Regions from separate parts of the Homo sapiens genome. Here all the other regions are linked to region 5. The links are contacts of gene promoters, found by promoter capture Hi-C in blood cells and fetal thymus (Javierre and others, 2016). All regions are on one chromosome and are shown on one strand. Each heading gives the region's core, a stretch centred on a gene start or on the middle of the fragment in contact. The rest is flanking DNA. Distances are from core to core; before and after follow the strand shown.

Evidence for each region. The method cuts DNA at HindIII sites, captures the fragments that hold promoters and counts their contacts. A CHiCAGO score of 5 or more calls a contact.
Region 1: a contact is called between a fragment that was not itself captured here and the fragment with the promoter of FH in region 5, in 2 of 17 cell types (activated CD4 T cells and total CD4 T cells). The highest score is 6.9, in activated CD4 T cells.
Region 2: a fragment that was not itself captured here is called in contact with the fragment with the promoter of FH in region 5 in 6 of 17 cell types (total CD4 T cells, activated CD4 T cells, total CD8 T cells and 3 more); the score reaches 13.8 in total CD4 T cells.
Region 3: a fragment that was not itself captured here is called in contact with the fragment with the promoter of FH in region 5 in 5 of 17 cell types (total CD4 T cells, non-activated CD4 T cells, total CD8 T cells and 2 more); the score reaches 10.5 in total CD4 T cells.
Region 4: a contact is called between a fragment that was not itself captured here and the fragment with the promoter of FH in region 5, in 1 of 17 cell types (total B cells). The highest score is 5.7, in total B cells.

What each region holds. Positions count from the first base shown.
Region 1 is chr1:243,349,782-243,355,467 of GRCh38, reverse strand. All of the region lies in intron 12 of SDCCAG8 (SHH signaling and ciliogenesis regulator SDCCAG8), which reads right to left. Among named protein-coding and RNA genes, the nearest start is that of MIR4677, 6.4 kb to the right of the region's middle. The HindIII fragment of the contact is 687 bases long and covers 3,234-3,920 here.
Region 2 is chr1:243,272,131-243,277,859 of GRCh38, reverse strand. It overlaps SDCCAG8 (SHH signaling and ciliogenesis regulator SDCCAG8), which reads right to left. Exons shown (of 18, transcript NM_006642.5): 4 at 3,204-3,317. Among named protein-coding and RNA genes, the nearest start is that of SDCCAG8, 19 kb to the right of the region's middle. The HindIII fragment of the contact is 1,396 bases long and covers 3,165-4,560 here.
Region 3 is chr1:243,330,548-243,336,216 of GRCh38, reverse strand. SDCCAG8 (SHH signaling and ciliogenesis regulator SDCCAG8) reads right to left here. Exons shown (of 18, transcript NM_006642.5): 10 at 5,525-5,669. Among named protein-coding and RNA genes, the nearest start is that of MIR4677, 13 kb to the left of the region's middle. The HindIII fragment of the contact is 2,079 bases long and covers 2,278-4,356 here.
Region 4 is chr1:242,786,216-242,792,313 of GRCh38, reverse strand. No RefSeq gene overlaps it. Among named protein-coding and RNA genes, the nearest start is that of PLD5, 260 kb to the right of the region's middle. RefSeq lists a silencer at 4,013-4,307. The HindIII fragment of the contact is 326 bases long and covers 2,980-3,305 here.
Region 5 is chr1:241,517,572-241,523,804 of GRCh38, reverse strand. It overlaps FH (fumarate hydratase), which reads left to right and starts at 4,050. Exons shown (of 10, transcript NM_000143.4): 1 at 4,050-4,214. The coding sequence starts at 4,083. RefSeq lists silencers at 3,936-4,065, 3,888-4,170, 4,346-4,615 and an enhancer at 3,676-4,272. The HindIII fragment of the contact is 3,380 bases long and covers 1,655-5,034 here.

The DNA.
Region 1 (5,686 bases), core at 2,328-4,827, 1.8 Mb before region 5:
TTTCTTTAAAGATATGAGCGTCCCCTCGCACTTTAATGGGAATTTTCAATGACAGCTTGACTCATGAAGAAAGGCTAATACTACTACTTGTATAATTTATTACCATGGAGAGAGGGTAGGGGACAGAGAGAGAGAGAGAGAGAGAGAGAGAGAAGGTATCAGGACTTCAGTTGTAAGTAGAGAGATTTTATACAAAGAAGAATTTTCCATTCCTATAGGAAACTCCAGAAATTTTCAGGGATGGCAGAAGGCAGGCCAGAAATAAAGACCCTGCAGCTTTCTTGTCTTTTTCCTAAATGTAAGTGTAACAAATCCACTTAAGTACAGATGTTAACACCAAAAAGAGTTAAATTAACTTGACCATCTGTTAAGAAGAGTAATATGAAAACTCTAAACACCTTGCAACTCATTAACACTCAGGAGCAGCCTAGAGTTAGATCAGGAATCTCTGTGTAGGGTGATCTGTCTCACACTGTGTGTCTAACACTCATGAACAGCCTAGAGTTAGATCAGGAATCTCTTTGTAGCGTGGTCTGTCTCATACTGAACTCCAGTGAGGGTCAGAAAAACATGCCAGGGATCTGTAAAACCTCTAAGACAATTGCAAAATTGTTTTTGGTTTCATTTTGATTGATTTTAAAAAGAACTCCCAGAGCAAAATCTTAAGATGATCATATTCTAGGTCATCTGTGTCCAGAACTACCACAGCTTTTCATTCCATGCTTGCATTTATGAGGGCAACAAGTGAAAACAGAAAGTGAAAGCATTAACTATTAATGGTGCGTTTCTCTAGTGGGAATCCACCAATGTATTCCTGATCATCATAAGTTCACACACCTAAGAAACTCTGGCCGAAGAGATTTACTTTCACAGGTCTTGCAAAAGCTGGTTACTCTCGCACAATACTACCTTTGACAGTTTGCCAGTGCCTCAAATCTTTCCAGTAGAAATTTTAATTCAGAGTGGGGCTTTAATCCTTGTTGCAAATTAGATGATGTCTGTCTTGTAAGTAAACTTAACTCTTTACAAGGCTAGACATTTTATTGTTCTATTACCAATCATAACGAAAATGTCTAAAATTGCAGATGACAGTCAAAATTCATTTTTATAATCTTAACAAAAGTGTCATGTTTATAAAGTGAAAGTGAATAACTGGAAAATACAGAATAAAACTTGAGGCTCCATGCAATTTCTGTTGATTTTATGAATATTTAATTCACAATTAAGAGGGGCAAAGAAATACTTCCTGTGTTTCTAGAAATGCAAGAATTTACAGCTGGAGAAAACTTTTGCTACCACTTGTCCAAGCTTCTCACTTCACTGGGAAATAAACTGAGGCTCTGAGAGGTTTGCTCAGGAAATTAGCTGGAAAAGCTAAATCAGAAAGTCATGACTTTGTACTCATGGTCCTTAAGTAAAGTAGTACCCTGTATGATCTGTGTTTCACCTTTCATCAACAGTCATGTGCTAATCCTCCACAAATCAAGATAATTGTCAATTCTTTATTTCTAGGAAAACAATCCTATATGACTCTAACACTGTAAATAAAATGACATTTTATTTATGTTATCTGAAATTTGAAAAATCTTAAAATTTTTCCATTACATAAAACCTACTACAAAGCAAATGAAATACATATGCATACATTCCCAAACGATACCATGACTTCTGTGCCTGACTGCAGGGCATACAGTATATTACAAGGAGACAATTATATTGGGATTCTGAGTGTTACTAAAACCCATTTTCTATGAGCAATCTATTACAACAGAGAAGTGGCACTTGAAATAATGGAGGTCAGTTATACAAAAATGCTATGGAACCAAAAGACACATATGTTCTTGGATGCACCCTCCTTTTTCACCCCCATTCCTTTGCTCAAGCTGCCATGTTGAACCTTCTAACCAAATAAATTTCTTCTTCTATCCGTGCTGGGCAACATTCTTTTTTTTTTTTTTTTTTTTTTTTTTTTTTTTTGAGATGGAATCTTGCTCTGCTGCCCAGGCTGGAGTGCAGTGGCACAATCCCAGCTCACTGCAACCTCCGCTTCCTGGGTTCAAGCAATTCTCCTGCCTCAGTCTCCCGAGTAGCTGGGATTACAGGCGCGCGCCACCACACCCGGCTAATTTTTGAATTTTTAGTAGATGCACGGTTTTACCACGTTGGCCAGGCTGGCCTCGAACTCCTGACCTCAAGTGATCTGCTTGCCTCAGCCTCTTAAAGTGCTGGGATTACAGGCATGAGCCACCACGGCTGGCCCTAGGCAACATTCTAACCACCCTGCAAGGATGTTATCTTTCCCCTCCCAAATTCCCATGCCTTTTGCATTTTGCTGATAGCTACTATGTTCTCTTTGACATATATTTATTGGCATACCTGGTTTACATACTCCTTTCTGACAGAAATTGATTATAGCTAAGTAGAGTGCACATAATATATGGTTATTGAATTAAAGCAACATATGAAGTTTAGGGCAAAAGGGCTCTAAATCTGTCATAGTGGCTGTTCTCAAAATCTAACTTACTATCATTTTCCCTTACAGGTATATGTAAATGGCCACAGTAAAGTGATCACTATGAAGAATAAGGAGCAACACAGAAAAAATGCTTAAGATAATGTTAAATGAAAAAAGCAAAAACCAAAACTAGAATCTATTTATATTTGCAAATATTATAGATGCATATGTACAAAAAGTGGAAGGTAAAACAGAAAAATAAAAACAATTTACACTGTTTGGGTGATGGAACTACTGGCTTCTGTTAATGTGCTTATGTTTATACAATAAATTTTTTTAAATGTATGCATATGTAGTAATTAGTGATATTTATATTGGATATAGGTACTAATATTTCTGGACTATAAACAAAAAGAAAGCATATGTAGTTGTCTTATGTCTAATGTCTCTCAGCTTGTTGGGCTGCATGGACACATTTAAAGAACTGTCACTACCTGGTAGCTACCAGAACTGCAGAGTTGGTACCTGAGAAGGCACTTTGCAAGTTGGCAGTTGGCTGGTAAGTCAACTTTTACAGTCAAAACAAGCATGCAAAAAAATGTTCAAAGAACCAAAACACATGTCATCCACTGAAACTGAAAATATAGCAAACATTATATTTCTTCAGGGCACACAGGAATATTCTTAGAGTCCAGTTTACAGTTTTCTATTCCCATCCAAAGGCAAATATTTATTTCTTAATGTTTCTCCTATAAGGCATATTATTTCTAAGAAAGCTTGTTTTATTTCCTATTTGTACTCTTATCTTCTAAATATACCTAAATTGCTATTTTCAGATGTGTTGTCTCTGCTTATACATTTGATTTTGTAAAATAAATTATTATGTTAAACAGCATTATCATCTTTGTTGGAAAATCAAATAACAAGCAGAAATTAATAGATTCTTTTTTTGAGCATGTTAATTGAAAAGTCAGTGTTTCTATGAATGAGGTATACATACCCTGCCTCAGAAAACAACTGCCTAAATCATTAACAACGTGACTAAATGCTAAATGCCCCAATGATCTCCAACTCGGTATTATTCACTGGATTGATTTGGAACTGCTTCTTTATGCAGAAAAATTGAATTATATTTTTTTACTGCTAATTTTGTGATTTTACCAACATGATGATTTTAGATGAAGAAAGTAATTTGGCACAGCATTTTAGAAAAATAAGTTCAATCAATAACTTAGACTTTTATTAAATGAACATATTTTAAATTATTTGTATAATCCAATAAATCCTACTTGTCCCATTCAAGCATCATCCAGGACAAGAACAAAAGAGGCTGATTTATTAGACATATGTTAGGCTGAAGAATTTTCTCAGAATTCTTGGTTAGGCTGCGATAAGAACACAAATTTCTCTAAGTATGCTGAACAATGCTTTAGGGCATACTTAGAGAAGATGCTATAAAAAAGCTTTATTGCATCACACACATGGAACCAGATTCTCCCTCTCATGGGCTGTAGCCAGCATGAAGTTCACACTACATTAATTTGCACTTGTCGATATGCTGCTTTGCAAGTATTCTTAAGGCATGTTCTAATGTGTACTCTGACTCCTCAACTAGAATATAAACTCCCTAAGGGTAGGACCTGGGTCTCCTAGTTATTACCCCCACAGTGTCTAGCATACTGGTCTGGGTAAGCCAAGCCCTCTGGAACTGCTGTTGTCTTCGTAGGGAGCAGGGACAAGAATGTGCTAAGTCTACAGACTGAAAGAGGGTGTGAAGAATACTGGAGAGCAACTCTGTCATCACCAGGACCGAGTGATTACATGTACCAAAGGCAGGCCCAAATGGCCCCTCTCCCAGTCATTTTGTAGAGGGAGAAGTGAGACTGCAGGTGGTAGTTGGATAAGTTTCTGAAGTCTGGCTCTTGAGAAGTCATCCATTATCTTAGCATATTCCCCAAAAACCTTCTGAAAAAGAGTACACAGCTTTAAAGACACAAAGCAGAGAATAGAACGGAACAGGATTTTACTTTAATCTGTAAGTGCTAGGTTTCAAGTAGAAAAGACTAACACTGCTGTTACCCACTTTTAAAAGATACAACGATGTCTTTCTAGGACGCTTCCAGAATCAAATAGAAGACTGGACCTCAGAGGTCCATGAGCTGGGTCTTCAGGTAAATCATATTGCTGCTACTATTTAAAACTAAAACTTCCAGGGAAAAGGTTCCATGGCCTGTTGCAGCAATTTCAATCTCCTTACTGTCAGAAAATTCTTGTTTCAGGCTATTGTGATTTGTAGTTGCTGTAGTTAAATCCCTTTGTTCTTGTTCTGTCCATATTGAAGACTCAAATCAGGTGTTTAACTTTTTCCTTGAAATAATTTGTCAAATCCTTGAAGATGTGAAGCAATGTTGAAGTCTTCTCTAAGTAAAAGGTACAATTCTTCAACTTTTCTTTATTGCTTTTATATTTCTCTAACTTTAAAAAGGACTGACATAGGCCGGGCGCAGTGGCTCACGTCTGTAATCCCAGCACTTTGGGAGGCCGAGGCAGGTGGATTGCCTGAGCTCAGGAGTTCAAGACCAGCCTGGGCAACACGGTAAAACCCTGTCCCTACTAAAAAACAACAACAACAACAAAATAGCTGGGGGTGGTGGCGTGCTCCCATAGTCCCAGCTACTTGGGAGGCTGAGGCAGGAGAATTGCTAGAACCTGGGAGGCAGAGGTTGCAGTGAACCGAGATTGCACCACTGCACTCCAGCCTGGGCGACAGTATGAGACTCCGTCTCAAAAAAAAAAAGAAAGAAAAAAGGACTGACTTTTAGGGCTTGCAGGCAGGCCTTCTTCTCCTTACACAAAGCCATACAATATAGATGCACTTCTTCCAACAGTCTAGTTAATTCAACTGAATTTAGGCGATAATTCCTGTGTCCTTACACTCCATCCTTAATGTCAGTGTCCAAGTGCTGAATCACTGCTGTAGATATGAGCAACCCTCAAATCCTTTTTTGCCCTCATTTTTCCAGCCAAAATTTTTGGATCTATTTCTTTTGCAGAGATACCCCACCCTGAATATTTGCTTTGATTGCTCCATTAAAGTCATTTCAAACTTGATGTTTTCTACTCAGTAGTAGCCACAACTCCAAAATTATAATTTATACAATGCCGGTAAAAAAAAAAAAAGAAAGACGCTTTCTATATCAGCCTTCTTATCTCTGAAAAATAAAATTGGAA
Region 2 (5,729 bases), core at 2,613-5,112, 1.8 Mb before region 5:
AGTTAATCAATGGAACAGGAAAGCCCAGAAATAGACCCAAAAATATGGACAACTATCCTTCAAACATGATCTAAATGTAAAATAAACAATTATAAAATACTAGAAGAAGAAAGGAGAAAATATAGTGAACCTGGATTTGGTAATAAATTTTTAAACACAAAGTTAAAAGTACAATCTATGAAAGAAAAAAATTGGTAAGTTAAACTTCATTAAAATTAAAAATTTCTGCTCATTGAAAGATACTGTTAAGAGAAGTAAATGCCAAGTCAAAGACTGGGAGAAAATACTTGAAAAAGACATATCTGATAAAGGACTGGCATCCAAAATACAGAAAGAATTGTTGAAACTCAACACTAAGAAAACGAATAACCTGATTTTAAAAATGGGTGAACGACCTGAACAGACACCTCACTCAAAGATGTTACATAGGTGGAATATAGGCATAGGAAAAGATGCTCAGCATCATTTGTGATCAGGGAATTGAAATTAAAACAGCAATGAGGTTCCACTACACATCTATTAGAACAGCTAAAATCTAAAACACTGACAACACCAAATGCTAATGAGGATATGGAGTATTAGGAACTCTCATTTACTGCATAATGCATAACGGTACAACCACTTTAGAAAAGTTAGGCAATTTCTTGCAAAGTTAAAATTAGTCTTACCATATGATGCAGAAATTGAGCTTCTTGGTATTTACTTTAAAGAGGTAAAAACAGATGTCCACACAAAAACTGACACACAAATGCTTACAGTAGCTTTATTCGCAATTGCCAAAACTTGGAAGCAACAAAGATGCCCTCCCATAGGTGCACAGATAAAAAAGCTATGGTATATTCATCTAATTGAATACTACTTAATAATAAAAAGAAATGAGCTATCAAGTTATGAAAAGACAAGGAGGAAACTTGAATTCATATTACTAAGTATAATAGGCCAGTCAGAAAAGGCTATATACAGAATAATTCCAAGTATATGACATTCTGCAAGTCAAAACTATGGAGAGAGTAAAAAGATCAATGGTTGCCAGGGGATGGGAGGGAAGGGGCGGAGGGGAAGAGGGATGAATAAGTGAAGCGCAAGAGGATGTTTCAGACAGTGAAACTATTCTATATGATACTGTAATGGTGGATATATGTCATTATACACTTGTCAAATTCGTAGAATGTATAACACAAAGCTAATGCAAACTGAGAGACTTAGATAATAATAATTTAACAATAGTGGTTCATCAGTTGTAACAAATGTGCCACACTGATGCAAGATGTTAATAACAAGGGAAACTATTAGGTGAGGGATGTCACTGAAAGGAGGATACAGGACTCTATGTGTTTGCCATTCAACCTTTCTATAAACCTAAAACTGATCTAAAAAATAAAGTCCATTAACTAAATAAACAAAATCTTTCTAAACCACTTAAACATTATTTTAATTCTATTCTTCTCTTACTAAAATGTATCAAATTTACACTCTGTCTGACAGTCAAGGCTTCCGTAATCTTCCATTTTACCAGTTCAGGATTACTTTCATTATTTCTATGAGACATTCTCCACTGCAGGAAGATAAAGTAGATGGCTTATGGCCCCCACAAACCATATTCATCCTGAATACTGTGTTTCACTGTTGCCATTCTCTTTATGAAACTCATCTCCCTTCTGCTGATCTAAATGATCCTATTCCTTTAAGACTGGTTTAGGCCGGGCATCGTGGCTCATACCGGTAATTCCAGCACTTTGGGAGACCAAGGCGGACGGATCACGAGGTCAAGAGATCGAGACCATGCTGGCCAACATGGTGAAACCCCGTCTCTACAAAAAATACAAAAATTAGCTGGGCGTGGTGGCGCAGGCCTGTAATCCCAGCTACTGGGGAGGCTGAGGCAGGAGAATAGCTTGAACCAGGGAGTCGGAGGTTGCAGTGAGCGGAGACTGTGACACCGCACTCCAGTCTGGCGACAATGCGAGACTCCATCAAAAAAAAAAAAAAAAAAAAAAAAAAAACATTGGTTCAAGATCTCTCTCTCCCATAGAAACATTCCCAAAGACAGTAGCTTTTCCTAACCTTCTTCTCTTATTATAATTATAGCTTATACCAAAAAGTAAAGGCCTATACTATGTTCTCTAATGTGCTCCTTATGGTGTTAATAGGGAATAGTTCTGTCTTCTCAACTAGATAGTAAATTTATTCTGCTTTATATCTTTCAAGTTTTATCCACAACATCTTAGGGATTAATAGAGTATTGTTAATGAAATAGTTCCTAGGATATTATTTCAGCTTTACTGGTAATCCAGGACCACGTGTATATTAATAACTGTGTCCTCCAAGAACAAACAGGAAATTACATGTTAAGATCAGAAACTCCCCGGTAAAATCAGGACAGTGAAACATCTAAAGCCTCCTTAAGTTACATACTGGCCTTGCATCTTAAAATGTCAACAATATAATACATAATATCATATACTATATATAAAAACATGATACAAGAGATATCAGTGATTCCTATAAAAATATCATACAATCGAATACACTGATACTAGAAAGAAAGAAAGAGGGAGGGAAAGAAAGAAAGAGAGAAAGAAACAGAAAAAAAAAAGTAAAACACGACATACTTCGGGAAGATGAAAAGGCTCTATTAGCATTAATGACATTAGCAAACTGCACGCAGTTGAGCATATAACCTTCTAGTGTCATAAGCTATATATGATGTGTTTGGTTTCTTGATCATTACTGTCAGTACCCTATGAACCATTCTCATTCAAAGTCAAAGTAAGAGCCTTAATACTGACAGCGGAGAAGAATTGGTCTACCAGTTTAGAATCCCTGATTGCTGTACCACTGCTCCAGTAGGTTGACAAGTATGGGAGAATGATTGGTATTTGTATTCCAAAGCATTTGCCATTTGCTGGGCTACAGCAAGCGGGGTGAGAAGGAAAACTTCTGAAATATGAAAGCATATTATGAAATCATTAGACATAGTAATGAACTACTGGGAAATCAAGCAATCAGAAATGGTATGGTCAAGAGCATCATTCCCAAGTCTGACAAGCTCTTGTGACACATCAGTCTCTCAATCACGTAAGAATAGCAATTGTCAATGTATTGCTACAAACATGAAGATTTATAGCAGCAAATTTTAATACAATCTATAGTTAATATAAGCTTTCATTTATTTAGTTTTAAATTCTTAATGAGAAACTTACCTTGCAGAACTTAACTTCTGCCTCTAAATGATGAATATATTGAGACTGGTCATTAATAGTATGAACAAGGTCGTGCATAGTAGGCATATTGGTTTCCTCATGTTCTAATGACCTCTATGACAAAAAATAAATAAATAAATACATAAATACATAAATTTTAAAAAGCCAAATTAAGCATGTTTGGATTTAGCAAAGAATCAGTTGTTACCTTCTCCATACTCAATTTTGCACTGATGTGATATAAACATAGAATCGATCACAATGTAGCTTATAGTCTTGATATAGTTTGGATGCTTGTCCCCCACAAACCTCAAGTTGAAATGTGGCCCCCAGCATTGGAGGTGGGGCCTGGTGGGAGGTGTTTCGGTCATGATGAATGAATCTTGGTGCTATCCTCATGATAATGAGTTCTTGCTCTGAGTTTTGGTGAGATTTGGTTGTTTAAAAGAATGTGACACCTCTCCCACTTCTTGCTCTGGCTCTCACCACATGAAATGCCTGCTCCCCTTTCACCTTCCACCATGACTGAAAGTTTCCTGAGGCCCTCACCAGAGTGAGATGCCAGTATCACACTTCCTATACAGCCTGCAGAACCATGAGCTGATTAAACCTCTTTTTTAAATAAATTACCCAGCCTCAGGTATTTATTTTTAGCAACACGAGAATGGACTAATACAAATACTTGCTTCTCTATCCTATAAATTCCACAAATACACAAGATTCATGGATGTGAATATCATTTTTTTTAAAGATGGATGGTGAAAGTGGTTATAAAAAGCACATATAGTGAATGGAAAAATGCTGGGGTAGCAGTAGTATAACTGGCTTGGAATAAACTATTTTAACAAATTGGAAAAACAACATTCCATTCAGTAATGCTGAGATACAAGGGACAACTCTCTCCAAGAAACTGCCATGGAAGAGGATTTGCTAGCTAAAACTGCAGCAGCTCCGTGAAGGAGAGATTCTTTAGGAAGCGTTTGATGCCAAGCCAGTGTCAATGCGATGAAATTCCATCTCAAAAAAGATACATTAGCAAAATGTAGTTTTTGATTTTTGGCTCTAGTATTGAAGGCAATTCAAGTGTATGGTGTTCTGGAGCATAGAACCTCCAAGAGTAGAACCCTAAAGTAGAGACACACTGCATTGAGGGGTCCAACGAAGAGATTTCAAAAAAACGCTAATGCTATTTTAGCTCTGTAGCATTCCTGGAACTGACTGTTAATGTATAGCTTACCTTATCCTAAAATAGTTTGTAAAATCATATACCCATCACATAATTTTTTTTTTAAAGGATGAGGAAATCAGGAAAAGGTAAAACAAGGGTCAACCAGTTAAACAAAGCCAGAGGAAAGCTTGAAATGAGGCACAGTGTCTGTTTCTCAGCCACTCTCTTTCTCAGCACAGCAGACATTTTAAATGATAATCAAGTACCAGCTATCATGGCAGAATAAAATAAAATAGAGCTTTGGTTTTTTGGTATATTTAAGAAATTTAAAAACCAAAGTAACTCTAATTAAATGAATTATCTGTCCTGAGTAGAAATCAAACAATTATAATCATCCTCCATTAATAGCAATAGGTTCAGAAGATAGGCAAATATAAATTACTACTATGAGTATACAGGAGGAAGTCAATGTGAAAAATAAAAAGCTCAAGCCAATATTGTATGAAAAATGTTCACATGAAATCATTTGTGTCTACTTTGAAGGGCTTTAGTTTAGATATCTACATTTTAAGACAATAAGTAATAACTTTTTTTCCATCTCAACAGTGCCTCAGTTTTACTCTCAATATATGCATGTATTTCTAATATGTTATACTGGCTATGAAAGTGCATTCTAAAGGTATAATCTTAAAAAGCTAATTATTACTATTATGGTTTATAATTATTACATGTAGGCTGTATACATATAGAGTCTAAGTTCCATTCTTTTACATAGCTCCATATAAATAGACTTGTGTATTTTAAAGTGCACTCTGTATGTACTAAACTGATTCTCTTAGTGAAGGTCTTCCTGCCTGTCTGGATTCAGTAAGCTCCATAATATCACTGCTCAGACTTTAAAAGGCAAATAAGCATGTCTGAGCATTCAACAGATAAAGCAACTTCATCTAGTAGATTTAAAAGCATTCCACCAGTCTGTGCTTAAGAGCAAGCTAGAAACCAGATGTCAATAGTAATAAATTCATTAAATGATGAGATGTTTTACTAAAATTATAAAATCTGTATCTATAAATTTAGAATATGCATATGAAGTACATTTCTCTAAAGTAGGAATTAAGCTTAAAAGTATGTGTCAGCCTGGAATGGAGTGTTCGTATGGGAGTGATACTCTGATATTTCAGTGGTGAAGAAAAGAAAGTGACATGTCTCCACACTTTTCAGCATACAGGCATTGTATTGAACTAGAAAACACATTGAAAATGTGAGGTGGTTACTTGCTGCTATGCATGTTATGTTTATGTAACACTTCATAGGTTTCTAAAGAATTTTAAGTATGTAATCTTATCTCATTATTCCAA
Region 3 (5,669 bases), core at 2,068-4,567, 1.8 Mb before region 5:
AGCAGTTTGGAAATTTCTCAAATAACTTAGAACCTACCATTCTACCAGAAATCCCATTACTGGATATATATTCAACAGAAAACAAATTGTCTTACCAAAAAGACACATGTACTTACATGTTCATTGTAGCACCATTCACAATAGCAAAGACATGGAATCAACCTAGGTGCCCATCAAGAATGGACTGGATAAAGAAAATGTGGTACATATACACCACTGAATACTATGCAGCCATAAAAAAGAATGGAATCAGGTCTTTGGCAGGAACATGGACGCAAGTGGAGGCCGTAGTCCTAAGTGAATTAACGCAGGAACAGAAAATCCAATACTGCATGTTCTCACTCACAAGTGGGAGCTAAGTATTAGGTACTCACGGATATAAAGATAGCAACAACAGAAACTGGGGATGACTAGAGAGGAGAGGGAGGGAGTGGGGTAGGGGTTGAAAAACTAACTATTGGGTACTATGCTTATGTAGGGGGTGACAAGATAATTTGTAAACCAAACCTCAGCATCATGCGATATACACAAGTAAAAAACCTGCACATGTACTCCCTTGAATCTAAAAGTTAAAAATAAATAAATAAATAAATGATACATAAAAAATGTGCTGCATTTCTGTCACCACCTTTATTCATGAAACAACTGTCAGTAAAAGAGAGGTTCTGTTACATATGAAGGCACCTGGAATACTGCCAGGCACACTTCAGCCTTCGTTTTTCCTTTCTTATCAGGAATTCTCATCAACATACTTCTACACAGTAGAACTACTCAGCAAGGCAAATGGTTTCCAGCAAACAACCAAAAAATACAAATTTCCTAGGCGTGAACAATAGCTGGTGTTTGCTATTGATACCATTCTCTCTCACACAACACTCAATTCGCAACTTCATCTCCCTTCCATGTCTTATTCATATTGGTTACAGGTGGCGTTCCTTCCCCCATACTCTGCGTTTCTAAACCCCATCTATTCTTGGAAGCTCAACGAAAATGCCATTTTTTCCCCAAAGCCTTCCATGATCTCTTGCAGACAATCAGTTCTGATCCTCTGAACTCTCAGCATTTTAGCCATAACTTCCCAATGGCATAGGGACTTTTTTCTTTTCCTTGTAATTCATTCCTTCATTCATCTAATATATACTGAGCACATTTTACATGAGAGGAATGTGCCAGGCATTGAGGATGTTACATGCAAGGGACTCACTGAACTAGGGGAGGCAAGCTATTCGACATGAATTTGTAATGAAGTGAGCTATGGGAGCCCACAGGAGACGGTCCCAATTCAGCTATGGGAGGCGCGGAGACGAGGTGGTACCAAGAAAAGTTCTGGGCCACGCGCAGTGGCTCACGCCTGTAATCCTAGCACGTTGAGTGGCCAAGGAGGGTACATTGCTTGACCCCAGGAGTTCGCGATCAGCCTGGGCAACATGGCAAAAACCTGTCTCTATAAAAAACACAATTAGCCAGGCATGGTGGCACACCTCTCTAGTCCCAGCTACCTGGGAAGCTGAGGTGGGAGGATTACCTGAGCTCAAGTGGTCGAGGCTAAGTGAGCTGTGAACACCCCACTGAGCTCCAGCCTGGGTGACAGAGTGAGACCCTGTCTCAAATACAAACAAACAAACAAACAAACAACTCTGAAGAATCAGTTAAAGAGGGCAGAGGAAGACTCCTCTAGGCAGAGGGCAAAGCACATGCAATATCCTGCACTGGAAAAAACAGTATGGAAGAGAGGCATATGTACATGCTTGGGGAAGCACAAGTAGGTCAGTGTGGTGAGGGTGCAAAGAAGAAAAATGAAGGAACATAAGACCGGAGAGCCAAAGAGAGGAACAATATTGTAGAGTCTTCATGCTATGATAAAGGATCCTAAATTTTATTCAAGGTTGCAGGGAGACGTGAAAGGAGTTTTAAAGCAAGAGACTGACATATTGAGAAAGATCATCCCAGCTGCAGTTTGGAGAACAGATAGGAAGGAGGTGAGACTGGAGGCAAGGACACCACAGGGGCTATAGGAACCATCCAAGGATGAGATATGGTAGCAGTAGGATAGAGAGACAAGGCAATGTAAATGCTCAGGGGCTTAAGTCTTAGAGCCTGGTGATGATGAGATGTGTGGGGTGAGAAAGACGGGGGAGAAAAGGGTGACAAGATTTCTGTGCTGGATAACTGGATAAATAGTGGATCCACTGGGATAGGAGGTGGAAAGTAAAGCTGGTTTGGGAGCTCAGTATACAGTTAAGGATCTAGAAATCAAATAGCTTTAGTCTTGAAGCTTTAGGTCCTAAGGCTATATATACATGGAATTCAAGCTATAGTACTGCTAAAGACACCTAAATCTTTAGCTCCCTGCTAAACTCCAGAACCTCCTATCAAGCTGCTTTCTGGATGTGTCTCCTTTATTGTCTCAAAGGCACTTTAAACTCAGAGTAATGTAAAAAGCACACATCATCATTCTCCCAAATCAAGAATATGAATTCAAAGAAATCATAGAGAATCTTTTAAGGAGAATAAGACTGAAAAAAAATCAGTAAATATAGTGTAAACAGATCTTCAGTGAACATAGCAATGGTAATTTCACTGGCTGTGGCATGGAAGTTGAAATGCAGTGGGCTGAAGAGTAAGTGAGAGGTGACAAAATAAAGACAACATGTATGGACAAATCTTTCAAGAAACTCGACTATTAAGAGAAAGAGTCAAAGAGGGAGATGGAATTACTGACGTGGTTTCCAACCTTGGCTGCACATTGGAATCACCTAGGTGAGTTTCAAACACACTGACACCTGGATGCTTCTCTCAGACATTTTGATGTAATGGGTGTGGGGTACTGTTTGGACAATCAGATTTTTAGAACTTCTTGCGTGCCAAAAATTAAGAACCACAGATTAGAAGAAAGATTGTTCCTTTCAACAGTAAGAGACATCTGAAAATATTTTCCTGAGGATAAGAAAGAGACTGTAGTGAAGGAAAGATTGATTCAGAAAAGTGGAACAAACAAATGGAATGAGTTCCTTGAGGGGGTGAAAGGAGACGAGGTCCATGGGAAGGGGAAGGGATTAGGAAGACACCTTTCCCATTCAGACTGGGTTGGAATACAGGTGAAAATTTATTTTAAGGCATGGACAAGAGAAATAGTTGAGGTGGTCATCACCCAACGGCTTCCATTTTCTTTGTTAGTTAAGTAAGGCTCTCTGCTGAGAATAAGAGGAAAAATGGTATTATAGAGAATTTGAGAAGAACAAGTGATTTGAAACAGTCTTTAAAGAAATGCATTTAAGATACCATCACTTCCCACCTGGACTACGATAATCACCTCCAGACCTGGACTACGATAATCACCTCCAGACCTGGACTACGATAACCACCTCCAGACCGGGACCACGATAATCACCTCCAGACCTGGACTACGATAACCACCTCCAGACCGGGACCACGATAATCACCTCCAGACCCGGACCACAATAATCACCTCCAGACCTGGACCGCGAAAATCACCTCCAGACCTGGACCGCGAAAATCACCTCCAGACCTGGACTGCGATAATCACCTCCAGACCGGGACCGCGATAATCACCTCCAGACCGGGTCTGTGATAATCACCTCCAGACTGAGACCGCAATAATCACCTGCAGACCTGGACAGCAATAATCACCTCCAGACCGGGACCGTGATAATCACCTCCAGACCTGGACTGCGAAAATCACCTCCAGAGCTGGATTATGATAATCACCTCCAGAGGGGGATTATGATAATCACCTCCAGACCTGGACTGTGAGTCACCTCCAGACCTGGACTACGATAATGACCTCCAGCTGATCTCCAGGCATCTATTCTGCTTCTCCTTCCAATCCACTGACAAAATGATTTTTCTCAAATATAAATGGCATCGTGACACTGACAAATTCAAAGCCATTCAATGGCTTTCCATCCCTTTTTGGACAAAATTGAAAATCCTTCATATGGATTTTAAAGCCATTCATGATTCCATCCCAACATAATTCTCCAAACTCATTCCCACTACTCTGCTCCTCTCTCTCTATGCTCCACCCATCAGGGCCTTCTCCAAATTCCTAGAAAGTGCGATGCTTTCCAGGTCCAGAGTCTTGGGTGTGTTATATTCCTGGGCCTGAAACCCTCTTCCCCTCTTCACCTGTCCATTCATCAATGCTTTCAGGTCTCATTTTCAACATCTCTTACTCAGGAAAGTCTTTCGTGACTGCCTAGACAAGGTCAGATTCCTGTTACACATTCCCACGATATCCTAAACCGAACCTTATGGCTTTATCACAATGATGATCGAAAACTCACTTATGAAAACATTTGTGTAACATCTACTTCTCCTACGAGTTTGTAAGCTTCATGAGGAAACTGCATCGTTCCTGTGACTACAACATTCCCAGCCCCTCTGGTTAATATCTGTTGAGTGTGGAATGAATAAGAGAGAGGAAGGCAAAAGAGGACTGCTAGAAAGCACTGAAAGGACCGTGGACACCGAAGACCTGGAGTCTACAGCCATGTCATCTGCAAGGCTGTGTGATTTTTACCAGCAGAGATCACCAATCCAGGGCAGAGAAGGTAGGTAGTAGGGTTTTGACAGACACAATTTTTAAAAATGGATAAGAAGACAAGGACATTTACAGGAAATGCCTGAGTTTACTCTTATTAAGACTTAAAACTCATAGGGCAGAAGTTGTGATTTTTCTCTTTACATATCTTTAGGCCTCCACATTGCTTTGCACACAGCACATACTCAGTATATACTTACTGAATAAGTTAATTATCACACATTGAATCTGATAACAACATAGCATTTAGAGTACAAGCTGTGAGTCCACTTTTAAAAACAAACATGTAACACAGTTGTTTTGGTTACTTGATGGACCACAACTTGCTCAATTCGAGTCTAGTTAGCAATTTTAAAGCTAGGTCCCACTCAACTCTGTATTCTAGTTTGTGAACTCCTTTTCAAACACTGCTTGTTTCATGTTATCTGTTCCTTTTGCCTTAAATCTCTCCCTTCATCTGGTTACCGTCATTATTCATCATGTAATTTGTCAGAACTGATTTCATACAGAGTGCATAATCACTTTTTCTTGGTTACTCAGTTCCTTACAAGTGTTTCATCTTCTGCATATTTAATTTAGGGGTAGGAGATAATGCAGGGGAAGTCATCTCTCCTTGATTTAGCCAAGGTTGAAATAAAATCTGGGTATCTTCATAGCACGACTCTGGGAAACACGAGAGAGGGAATCCAACAGAATGGCAGGATTTAAAGTAAATTTTGTAATTTCATTGTATGGAATCTAACTGATTATTTTATTTGAAAAGATCAGCATAAACTATTGAGAAATATATGAAAAGATAAAACATTTTTATGAATTCTAAATTATACGAAATTTAACTACTTATATAATAACGATTTTAAAATTTAAAGTTCATTCAAGAACTCCAGCCTATGGAATCATCAATGGCATCATAAAAAACCTTTCTTCTGCAATGTGGATAACAGCAGAGTCCTTAAGTACCTTTGATCCCATGTACTCCCTTTCTTTCGTTATTTCCTTTTTCATCATGTCTTTCTCAATGGCCCTTTTCTCTTGCTGAGATGCAAGTTCTTTTTCAAGTCGCTCCGCCTGCCTCTCCAGCTCCTTCCTCAACTGGTCACACTGG
Region 4 (6,098 bases), core at 1,893-4,392, 1.3 Mb before region 5:
AGAAAGGAGGATTATCCCTCTAAGCTTCAGAGAGCATGTGGCCCTGCTGACCCTTGATTTCAGCTGTCTGGTGTCCAGAACAGTGAGACAATACATATCTGTTGTTTTGAGCCACTCAGTTTGTGGTGCTTTGTCACAGCAGCCCTAAGAAACTAACACAAGTGGGTAATAAACATTTGTTTCTACGTCAGGTCAGATGTAATTCCTCTTGAACTAGAAACGTATGAGCTGAAAAGATAGGCTCTCACTCCCTCCCCTACCACCAACACACATTTACCCACTGTGCAGTGCTGGAGCAGAGATGTGACAGGGCAAGTGTGCTCTGCACGGGGAAGGAAGAACTGAGTATGTAGTGACCCGTGGGGTGGAATGTGGTAGACATGACCGCTTCACTGCTATCCAGCTTCCCTTTCCTTTCAGTGCATTAGGATTGTTTTTCATGTCTCTTTGAAGTGAGTCATAGTCATGGAACTGGTTCTAGCAAATGGGTTTGGGTGGAAATCATTGGTCCACGACTTTCCAGCCATCATGAAAACACTTTTTAAGATAAAGCCTTCATCAGACTGAGTCCCAGAGTGACTCTGATAAACAGAGCTCCCTTATCCACCCGCATGAGGCATGCAAAATGAATGGGAAATCTTTGTTGCTTTAAGCCACTGAGGTTTGGGGTTGTTAGTCACCACGGCAAAACCTAGCTGATGCAGACAGATGAAATGAGCATGTAACTCAATGGTCTACTCTTGTAATTACAGTTGATCCTTGAACAACGTGGGCTAGAACTGTGTAGGTCCACTAGCACGTAGATTTTGTTCTGCCTCTGCCATCCCTGAGACAGCAAGACCAACCCCATCTCTTTCTCTTCAGTCTACTCAATGTGAAGATAATGAAGATGAAGACCTTTATGATGATCCACTTCCTCTTAATAACCAGTAAATATATATTCACTTCCCTCCGATTTTCTTAATAACATATTCCTTTCTTCAGCTTACTTTTTGTTAGAGTACAGTATATAATACACATAACATATAAAATGTGTATTACTTGACTATGTTACGAGTCAGGCTTCTAGTCAACAGTAGGCGATCAGTAACTAAGCTTTTGGGGAGTCAAAAGTTATACATGGATTTTCACCTGCACAGGGAGCTGGTGTCTCTAACCTCTTGTTCAAGGGTCAACTGTATTGCATTTTATTATAATAAAATAAATTAGTATCTGAATCTGATTTCTATTATCTAAATCATAATATTACACCATTTATTCTTCAGAATGAACTTCTTTGGTCCAGGAATGTAATGACTTCCCATCTAACTTTCTGTTCACTTCACTGGGCTTTATTGTTACCATTATCACTTGCACCCATTCATATATTTATTGAATGCTTGCTATATGTCAGGCACTGTTTTAGACATTGGCATTTAAAGATTAAGAAGACATAGTCTCTGACCTTAAGTAATTCACTGTTTAAAGAGGTAGACAAACATGCAAGCACTTTGCATCATTGCAGAATGAGAAGTTCTACATAAATCTTTTTACTGTCTATCCTCCTGGGTCAATGGGTCAGGCCTGCTGTGAGCTGCCTTTGGGAGCACATTCCTAGTGTGAGAAGTCATTGTTGGGTGCAAATGGCCAGGGTCTTGGATGGATAACAAGGGAGGTCATAACACATGATTATTTATAGAGACCCAGTGTTAAGAAAAAAGATTGCCATGAGAATCAAGAAACCAAACATTCTGAGTCTTGAACAGGCAAAATCACCCTAGGAGGCAGAGCCAGGTCTGAGCTAATGCAGTGGGCAGGGCAAGTTAGGCGTGGCCCAGCAAGTCATGCTGGAGAGAGGGACTGGGGACCAGCAGAGATTATTGAAGGAACCAAGGTGGGCTTGACACTTTCCCAAAGTGTTACAAAAGCTAAGAGGAAGTGAATGGCTGTTTAAGGATGACTAGGGATTTCCCAGTAATCAAACAAACAGGATGTATTTCCAGATAGATAAGTGATATGGTTTGGCTGTGTCCCCACCCAAATCTCATCTTGAATTATAATTCCCGTAATCCCCACATGTCATGGGAGGGACCCAGTGGGAGGTAATTGAATCATGGCGGTTTCTCTCATGCTGTTGTCATGATAGTGAGTGAATTCTCATGAGATCTGATGGTTTTATAAGCATCTGGCATTTCCCCTGCTTGTACTCATTCTTTTCTGCTGCCCTGTGAAGAAGTGCCTTCTGTCGTGATTGTAAGTTTCCTGAGGCCTTCCCAGCCATGTGGAATGTGAGTCAGTGAAACCTCTTTTCTTTATAAATTACCCAGCCTCAGGTATTTCTTCATAGGAGTGTGAGAACGGACTAATTCAACAAGGAATGTCAAAAACCATGGTGGGCAGGGGAAAGGAACATGAAATACTCCCTAAGACTAAAGTAGAGTTTGTGGAGATGGCATGGGGGAGCTGGAGATCCAGACAATTGCAAAGAACATTGTAAAAGAGGGCAAAGAGCTTGGACTTGATTTTAGAGACAATAGGAAGCCGAATGAAGTTTTTAAGCAGTTGTGATCTGAGTTGTTCTTTTAGCTGGAGTAATTTCGCAGCCTCATGGAGAAGCAGCTGGTATGAGGGGGTCTGTGGCAGGACAGCTGGGCAGAGGGACCCCGCAGTATCCAGAAGGAGACAGTGAGGGGCTGGAGCAGGCAGTGGTGCCAGCACTGGGGAGGAAAGACCAGAAAATAAATACATTGAAGATTTGATGCCTAACTTAATGTGGGGATAAGGAAGACATTGGTAAATTATGCAGATCACCACTTCAAAAAATGATGATAAAAACCAGGACTGGAAGTCAAATATCTCAGTTCCAATTCTAGTGCAGCAACGAACTGGCTGTTTGACATTAAGAAAATCACTTTACCTCTCTGAGTTTATTTATCAAAGGAAGGAGTTAGCTGGAAAAATCAAAATGTTCCTTCCAGATTGAAAATCCTATTTTAAGCTTTTTTCCCTTCACTATACTTAGTTCTAAAATCAGTGAGATGTGAAACCCCTGCTGTTTTTCTCTAAAGTAAACATAGATGTATATATATATGTATCTCACATTGTCTTAAAGACCCTGAGGGTCTAACATTTATTGAAAATGTTATGAGACAAATGATGAAGCCGATGACTTGCCCATGGAATTTGACCTTGATAAAACAGCACATCATAAACAGACTTAGGGAGAGGAGATGAGGGGAGTTCAGAGATAAGCCAGGAAATATGAACTGGGCAAGACCGTTAAAAATTGAAACAGTGTTTCTCGGTTGCTGTATTTGTGGAAAGCTTGTGGGTTACAGAAATATTGAACTTCAATGCTTGAACCAAACAGGTAATGAAACTAATTGGTTTTTAAGGTGTTTGGTCATGCATATCTTCCTCATCATTTTAGAAGGTTCTAGTTCCTTCTAGTGGATAGTTTATAAAATCTTTAAATACAGGCTTCATGATCTGAGGTGAGTTCCACAGTACAGTACAGTAAAAGTGGCCACAAGCCACACATTTAATGGGACTGATTAGAAATTAAAAAATGTAGCCATTTCTCTTCATCACATTGCCAGCTGATCTCCTGATGAATGTTTTATGTTAATGTGTGGATGTTCTTTTTGGTCTACCTCATTTAGCGAAGCAGCTTGAAAATTTTTCATCCCACATTTCAAATATTTTGTTCCAAGGATACTGAATAATGAAATGTGCTCCTCAGCATCTTAAATAATAAATCCGTTTATTCATGAGGCAATCAATTTTGTAAACTTCATGTAATTTAGGTTTTTCCGATGTAATGTGAGATTTTCCAAGAAAGAGGAAGGATATACAGTAAATAGAATCTTGCCTTTTCCTTTTTATTTTCCTAAGGGTACTATTAAGCCTAAATATGTCTGTCACACAGGCTCTTAAAATAACAAAATAACACTGAAAAATTGAATGTTTCACCCATAGGCCTTTAGGCTTCAGGCTTTAATATCCTTATAATCAACAATGGCCTATGTCAGTGATGGAAGACAAATAGGTAATGACTTTTGGAGAAATAGTGTTTTACCTTCAGTGTGCAAGAACACATTCTAAAGCTTCCAGTGCTATGACTCAGCCTTCAGGGATGTTAAGGAGAAAGAGGCAAAAATTTGGAGCACGTCTCCTGTGGCTCTGAGGAAAGGCAGAGAGAGAAAGCCTGTAATTACCACCTAAAAGTCCCTGGGGCTCTGTCATGGGCATAATTTTGATTTGAGCTGGAGTTTGTTTAGGGATAGGTAAGAGGAGCTATGTTATGCAGTTGGGGATGGGATACTGGTAGCGGGCAAAAGTGAGGAAGTGAGGAGATTATTTACATCCATTCATTCATTCAATAAATCTTTGTTGAACCTAGTATTTTCTAGGCATTGCTGGGGATAGAGCACTAAACGATATAGACAAAAACCCTTGCCTTCAAGGAGCTTATAGTGTAGTGCGGGAAGCTAGGCAATAAACAAAGAAACAAGCAAAAGTTACAGTATGTCAGAATGTGATAAGTGTTTATGGAGAAGAATAAAGCTGGAGAATGGGATAGAGTGTGCTGGTGGGCATAAGAGTACTATTTTAAACAGAGCAGTGGAGGAGGTCTCCCTGATAAGATGATATTTAAGAAGAGAAGGAGGTGAGAGAGAGAGCCATTGAGGAAGAGGGCATGTGCAAGGAAAAAGGCCTCCCAAGTAAGACGAAAAACAGCATGAGCAAAGAAAGGCCTGGAGACAGCAGTGCACTGGCTTGTTCAAGGAGCCAGATGGTTAGAGGGAGCGACCCTAAGGAAACAGCAGGAGAGTTGTGTGTGGGATGTGGGGACTGTCCAGGGTGTGACGTAGGGCCTTGTAGATTCCTACTCTGCCTGAGATAGAAGCCGCTGCAGAGTGCTGAGTTGAAGGGTTAAGGTGCTCTGACACGGAGTTCCAGATAATCACTCTGGTTGCTGTGCGGAGAGTAAACTATAGGTGAATGCGGGGGCAAGGGAAAGGGTGAAGCAGGCGTGCACATCAGTGGAACTTTCAATAATCCAGATGAGAGATGATGGTGGCTTGAACCTGGGCGAAAGCAGTGGCAATGAGGCGTGGTTGGATCCTGAGTATATTTTGAAGTGAGAACCCACAGGACTTACTGATATGGATATGTTTTACAAGATAGAGGAGTCATAAGTGAAAAAATTAATTCTGTCTGAGCAGCTAGAAGGATGATGTTGCAAGATTGAGGAGACTGGGGGAAGTGTGAAGGAAAAGGTTAGGAATTTCTGGACATGTTGAATACAAAATGACTTCAAAGCATGGAGGAAAAACGAACAAAACCTGAGCCCCCTCAATTTTAATGTGTATTGTTTAGGAATACAGATAGGTGGGATAAAAACTTTATAAAATGGAAAGGAATGATAAACACAAAATATAAGATAGTGGCTTTATCATTCGGAGAAGAAAAGGCAGAGTGATGGGGTAGAGAAGGAACATACAGGTTAATGCAATGAAATTGGTGATGTTCCAGTTTTTAAGTGGAGTAGAAGCTTCATTGGTGTTCATTTTATTATTATGCTTCATAATTTACAGATATCCTCTTGCATTAATCAAATGTTACATGGTAAGAATTTAAGAAGGGAATGAGAGCAGTTGAAAACATGGAGTGTGGACAGCTATTTTGAGGGGTGTTTTTGTGAAAGGAAGTAGAATTTTTTTTTTTTAAGATGGAGTCTCACTCTGTCACCCAGGCTGGAGTACAGTGGTACAATCTTGGCCCACTGCAACCTCCGCCTCCCGGGTTCAAGCGATTCCCCCGCCTCAACCTCCTGAGTAGCTGGGATTACAGGCACACACCACCACGCCTGGCTAATTTTTGTATTTTTAGTAGAGACGGGGTTTCATCATATTGGCCAGGCTGGTCTCGAACTCCTGACCTTGTGATCTGCCCACCTCGGCCTCCCAAAGTGCTGGGATTACAGGCGTGAGCCACCACGCCTGGCCGGGAAGTAGAAATATTGAGTTGAAGTGGGGTCAAGAAGGGGTGTTTTAAAATAGGAATAAATGAGAGGATGTGCATCTGCTGATAATGATCCATAATGAAGGTGATAT
Region 5 (6,233 bases), core at 2,801-5,300:
ACCTTGCAGGTCACTGGTGACCCTGGAAAGGGCAGTATGAATGGAGTGACATGTACTGAAGGCAGATTGTAATAGGATGAAGAAAGAATGAGAAGTGAAGTGAAGATGGTGATCAAATATGTCCTGGAAATGAGGAGGGAGTTGAAGTGGGATGCAAAGTCAGAGCAGCTTTTGTTTGTTTTTAACATGAGAGCTGAGACAGCAAAGTTACAGTATTAACTTATTCTATGGGTCAATTAAGAGAAATAACCAGACAAAGTAAGAAAAAGAGTGGGTAGTGTCTCTGAGGGGTAATGGAATCCAGCACATTGAGGAATTGAAGTTTTTCTGGAGAATGGAGAGAGAGGTTGGTTAACTTTCTGAGTTGGTAATTTTAGTGTTTTGCAAAGTTTCTGTACGTGCACTTAGTCTTAGGAATAAAAAAGTTCTGCAAGACATCCAACCTAAACAGTCATCACCCTTGCTACCTCTCCGCCACTTATCCTTGCACAGAGGCATCCCTTCCAGTTCCTGGGTATATACTTCCACATCTCTAAAGATTACCTCTTGGTTTTTATTTCTGTCTGTCCAGTTTATGGTTTTAGGTATTAGATCATGACTTCTCACTACTGAAGACGAAGATTAATGTTTTTTTTTTCACCGTGTCTGAATCTCTCCAAACTTCTACATTCTTTCCATCTCCCCATCCTTTCAGTATAGTTACATCAACATTTCAGTTAGATCAATATTCAACGTTTGATTTATTATAACTATGGCCATTCAAATTTGATAATGATTATTTTCCCTTTTCTGCAAAATACAACTATCTTTATTTGTCAGTTTAATAACTGTCATGCTTTTTCCCTTTGGTTACTTTTCTAAGACTTATAAATGTAACCCTCAAACTCTCCCCCAATCAGCTAAATTCCTTCTCAGTATATTCAAGGCATTAGCAATTTTATCTTTTTGAGTAAATCTATTCCAGAGGCTGTGACCTGCTTCCATCTGAGATGGTTGCTCTCTAAGGTAAGTGCACAGCTGTCATAGCCTCCTCCAGGCAATATGCCACATCTGTCTCTTGTGTCGAAGACCCTATTTTCTAAGTCCATAATTTCCTCTTCCTTTGTTTACTCCTAGTTACGGTGGAGCACTTACTTGAGGCGTTTTCTTGAAAAGTGTAGATAAGAAGTAAATTTTTTGACATCTTGATCATGTGAAAACATTTTAATTCTCTTCACACACTTGATTTCTCTGGGTATAGAATATAAAGTTGGAAATAATTTTCCGTTAACAATTTGAAGACATCATTCAACTGCTGTCTGGCTTCCGATATTGTTGTTGTGAAGTCTAAGGATTTCTAATCCTTTGCTTATTTATTTTTCTCTCTGAAAGATTCCAGTCTCTTCTCTTTGCCCTTGGTATTCTAACATTTCTTGTTGACATAACTCATTCTGGCTAGTTCATATCTGCTAGTTCTACAATATATTTTTCTGAATTTATTTTTTTAAGGTTTATTCCATTTTTTCCTAATGTTTCCCCTACATTATTCACATGTTGGACATACTGAACTGTTTCTCTAATTTTATTTACTTCTTTTATTTTCCTTCTCTTTGAATATTTGCTCTACTTTCTGGGAGACTTTTATGGGTGTATCTTGCAAATTTTCTGTTAAGCTTCCTCTAGGAAACCCACTGGTAATCTCCCAGGCTGGGAGGTATCCTAAATTAGAATTTGCAAAAGTCTTTAGTTTGAATAAGGAGAACATTTTGATTGATACAATTTGAACCTCGCAATCAATTTTGTCAGCCAGGTGTTGAGATTTAGAACACAGGCAAGAGAAAACCATTGCACTTTTCCCTTGTCCCTCAGCAGGACACCAATCACATCCCCTACCTTAAACAGAAAGCAAAGTAAAACAAACAAGAACAAACCAGGCAAGCATCAACAAGAAGAAAGCAGGTCAATATTATTATCAGACAAGTCCAAAGTTAAAAAAAAAAAACCCAAACTCTAAGCAAAGTAAAAACATTATTTCAAATAGATAACATAAGTCATTCTAAAATGAAGATATCTAGCCTTTATTAAAGGCTTTATGTACGTTTTATTACGAATTAATAAAAATAAATTAGCTAAGTTAATATTTCCTAAATTTTAGTCATTTATATAGCATCTTCATATTATACTGAATATTTTACTTCAAATAAAATGAATAATTAAAAATGGAACTTCATATTACTACTGCAGATAGAAAATCAGTTTCACTAATAAATCGAAGTAAAACACACAAATAAATATGTGGATGTTCCTGGGCATCAATTTTTCTCTTCTATGTACAGGAATAATAATAGGACCTATCTCATAGGGTTGTTTTTGAGTGTTCCAAGAATTAATACATATAAAGTGCTTTGAAAAATTCTAGAACATAATATGTGTCATAGGTAATTTTTAAAAGGGATTAAAATAACCTATTTATAAAAAGGCTATTAATTTGGGTTTTGAAAAGTTAAACTGTATGGTAGAAATAAGAGACATGCTCGAAACAAAAATGAAACAAAAAATAAAATAAAATGAGAAATATACAGCAGGCAAATAATAGCCAATATGAAATTGGTAGAGAAATATCAATATTAAAAAAAGTTTAAAAGGACAAGCAACAATAACAATAAAGAGGGGCACCACACAATGAAGAAAGAGATGATCTATGAAGAAATGATAAACATATGTTCATTAAATAATTTTGTGTAATAGCAAAGAAAAATGTTCTTTATTAAGAAACTGGATAAATAAAATATTTCATATTCATGTGATCCAATATGATTAATTTTAAAAGATCATGGCTATATCTTAAAAGCATAGAGTTCAATTATGCAACAGTAAAACTTTAAAGTAAAATATTAAAACCATTGTTTGTATATTAGTGTATGAAGCAAAAAATACACAGAACTGAAAGGATGCATCAAAATAATGATATACACAATAATGATACCTGCTGGGAAGGAGGAGAACAAAAACAAAACGTCATTCCATTATTAGCAATGTTTTAAAGAATTTGCATTCAGTTTTCTAGTGTGTTTTGATTGTAGTTCAACTATTACAATCTCATTTGAATTTTTATATTTTAAATATGTGTCAAATTTATAAGTCACAAAATAACATAATGTTACCAAAAGGTTTGGCAAGTTTGTAAGTTTGACTCATAAATTTGGCTTTGCAGGTTCTGGACTTTTGATTTTAAGAACATCCGATCGCTCTCTCTTTACTGTCATCTGGTTCCAAGCAATAGAAAAGAGAAAAGATAAAACTGTGGTTCAGATGCAATTTTATATCAATTCCTGCTTTTCTGTAATCAACTATTATATTAAAACAATATGCCTTTAATTTGAAAATGTATAAATTAGCTATGCAAAAAACTGGGAGAACGATATACAAATAATAAAAATTCCGAGGTTCCCTATAATTGTGTACGTCTTCCACAATACATTAAAAAAAAAAAAAGAGTTCTGAGGGTATAGGCTAAGAAGAGAAAGGAAACGGTAGCGATCTCAAAATGATAAGTTAAAAGAAATAAGTAAGTAGCTTATTTTTCAGTTGTGGGATTATGAATAATTACTATTTCATTATCTACACTTTGCTGCACTTCCCAAAATTTCTACACAGAAGATACAATCTGGAAGAAATGAAGAAAGATTTCAGTAGTAAGAACGTGTAATGAGTGATTACATGATAAATAAAACAATAAATATTTCTTTCTAGGATATTTCACCAACCAAACACGACCTGATTCACCAACTAATACTCCCGCCTTCTAACAGCCACACGTAAAAATCAGACCGGCTCCAAGAATAACCTGAGCCTCCTTTCCCATAATTCCCTTCTTTCTAGTTTCCCATGAATCCGAAGGCCTTACACCCCACACTACTACTAGAAAGTTAACCCGCCCCCTCATTCTTTACTGGTCATTCACGATTGGTCCTGCCCCACCTGTCGGTGTGAGGCTGTTGATTGGATAAGAGCGGAGGCCGGTGGGCGGAACGGTTTCTGACAACCGGCGTGGAGGCGTGGCCACAGCCGCCCAGAAATTCTACCCAAGCTCCCTCAGCACCATGTACCGAGCACTTCGGCTCCTCGCGCGCTCGCGTCCCCTCGTGCGGGCTCCAGCCGCAGCCTTAGCTTCGGCTCCCGGCTTGGGTGGCGCGGCCGTGCCCTCGTTTTGGCCTCCGAACGCGGCTCGAATGGTGAGCGCAGGCCGCCATCCCCCGGCCTCCCCGCAGTGACCTTCAGCCCTCCTGCCTGCCGGCCTGGGCGCCCGCGACTTGGCGGGAGAGATTCCCCGGGCGTCCGGGCCGCGCCAGACTCTGGGCTTAGCGCCCGTGCCGGCGTGGCGGGCCTCCCGGCCTCGGGACGCCTCTTCCGGCGCAGGGATGGAGCCGCAGCCCGGGAGAGCGCTTGGGGAGGGACGGGGGCTGTCAGAGAGGGTCCTACTGGGCCCGCTCCCGGCGCCTCCTCGGAGCCGTCCGTGGCGGGCCGAGGCCGGGGCGTTTTGAGGTAACTTCGCTGCTGCTGGCGCGCAGGCCCCCAGCCCCGGGGCGCTGCCCTCAAGGACAGTGCCGGCGTGGGCGGAGGGTGCTGGGAGAGGGGCAGCTCCCGCACCGTCCTGCCCCATAGCTGGGCCTTGCTGGCCGGACACTGGCCGCCTGTGCATCTAGTGGTTTCTGAACTGTGGTTTGTTTCGCCAAGGGGCACTGCACTGCTTTCAGGCCCTCCAGGTGGGGTAGAAGGTTCTTCGAAGATTTTACTTCCTTTGAAATTGCATGCTCAGTTTGTTAGGCTGACTATGGTTTCCCCCGTAATTGTTGTAAAACTCTTCAATTCCGAATACCGCGGGCATAGTGTTCTGAAGCATGTTTGAGCAGATTGGCTAGGAGCTGAATCGGTACTTTTTATTCAGAAAGCCAGCTAAGAACTTAAAGATCCAAGTTCAGGTTATGACATGCTTACGTAAGTCATTTTGCTCTTTAGAGTGTCATCTTTAGGAATGCAGGCTTTTAAAAAGCTTTAAATACATATGTATATTGTTAGGAAACGTTTGAGAAATGATAGTTGAAGAGTTACAGTTCTGCACTGGTGTAGCATGAGGTTTGCAATCTAAGAGATGTGATTTCAAATCCGTATGCAAAGTTGAAATACTTACAGCTACTCAGCAAAACTGCACATGTGAAAATACCATGTAGCGAGTGCTCATTAAATAAGTGCCCCATCTAGGGTATTTCAAAGGGCCAGTACTTTTTCTGGACTCTAAACTTCAAGATAATTTGATTGGGTCACTATACCTACGATATACAACTATACTACAGAATCAGAGATGTTTTGTATTCCTCGAACTCCCTGCTCGAATAATTTTAGGGCATTTTAAAACCTTTACATATTTTTAAATTTATTTATTGTTTATTTAGTGTTTTGTAAAGGGAAGCAGACTGGAGAACTTCTGAATCTATCCTGTTGATGCAAATGTCAAAAAATAGCAGCACTACTTTGCTCTTAGAATTGTAATGTTAGCTAAAATCAGATGGAGGTAGTTTTTGTTTTTTCTAGTTCTGGTACTTTTTGCCCTCTAACCATTCTCAGGTCCAAAATCTCTGTTGGTTTTGTTAAAAGTTCTTCCTGTTGCTAATGTTGAGAATTTCACATAACCCTTGATGCCCTAAGGTACCTTTTATTTAAAAGAACACATACAAATTCATTCAATAGAAAGATACTGTTTATTGAGTGCCTTCCACTTACCAGGCCCTGTAAATAAGACAGTCCCTATGGGGATAGGGTTTTACAGGCAGTGTTTTATTCTTGTCTTTAGTGGAGATTAAATAAGCAAAGCAGTTAAATAAGCAAATAAATCACACATGAATAATTAGTGTGATCATTGATTATTAAAAATGCATTAAAAAGTGCATTGAGAATGAGAATATTTAACAGGCAGACCAACTGTGATACTGACTTGGTAGCATGATGGCATATATATAGTGTTTATATATGTAAATAATGTTTATACATTTCTTATATAAATGAATATACATATGTAATATATGTGAATAATGTTTATATATAAATAATGTTTATAAATTTCAAATAATCATTCTTAGACCGTTTTCAAAAGTTCCCAGTAAAATAAGCATTAAACTAAGTACATTGAATTGGCCAAATCTTGACCAGTAATAAGCATACTCTTGAAATGGAAAAGATTACTATTTGTATTTCAA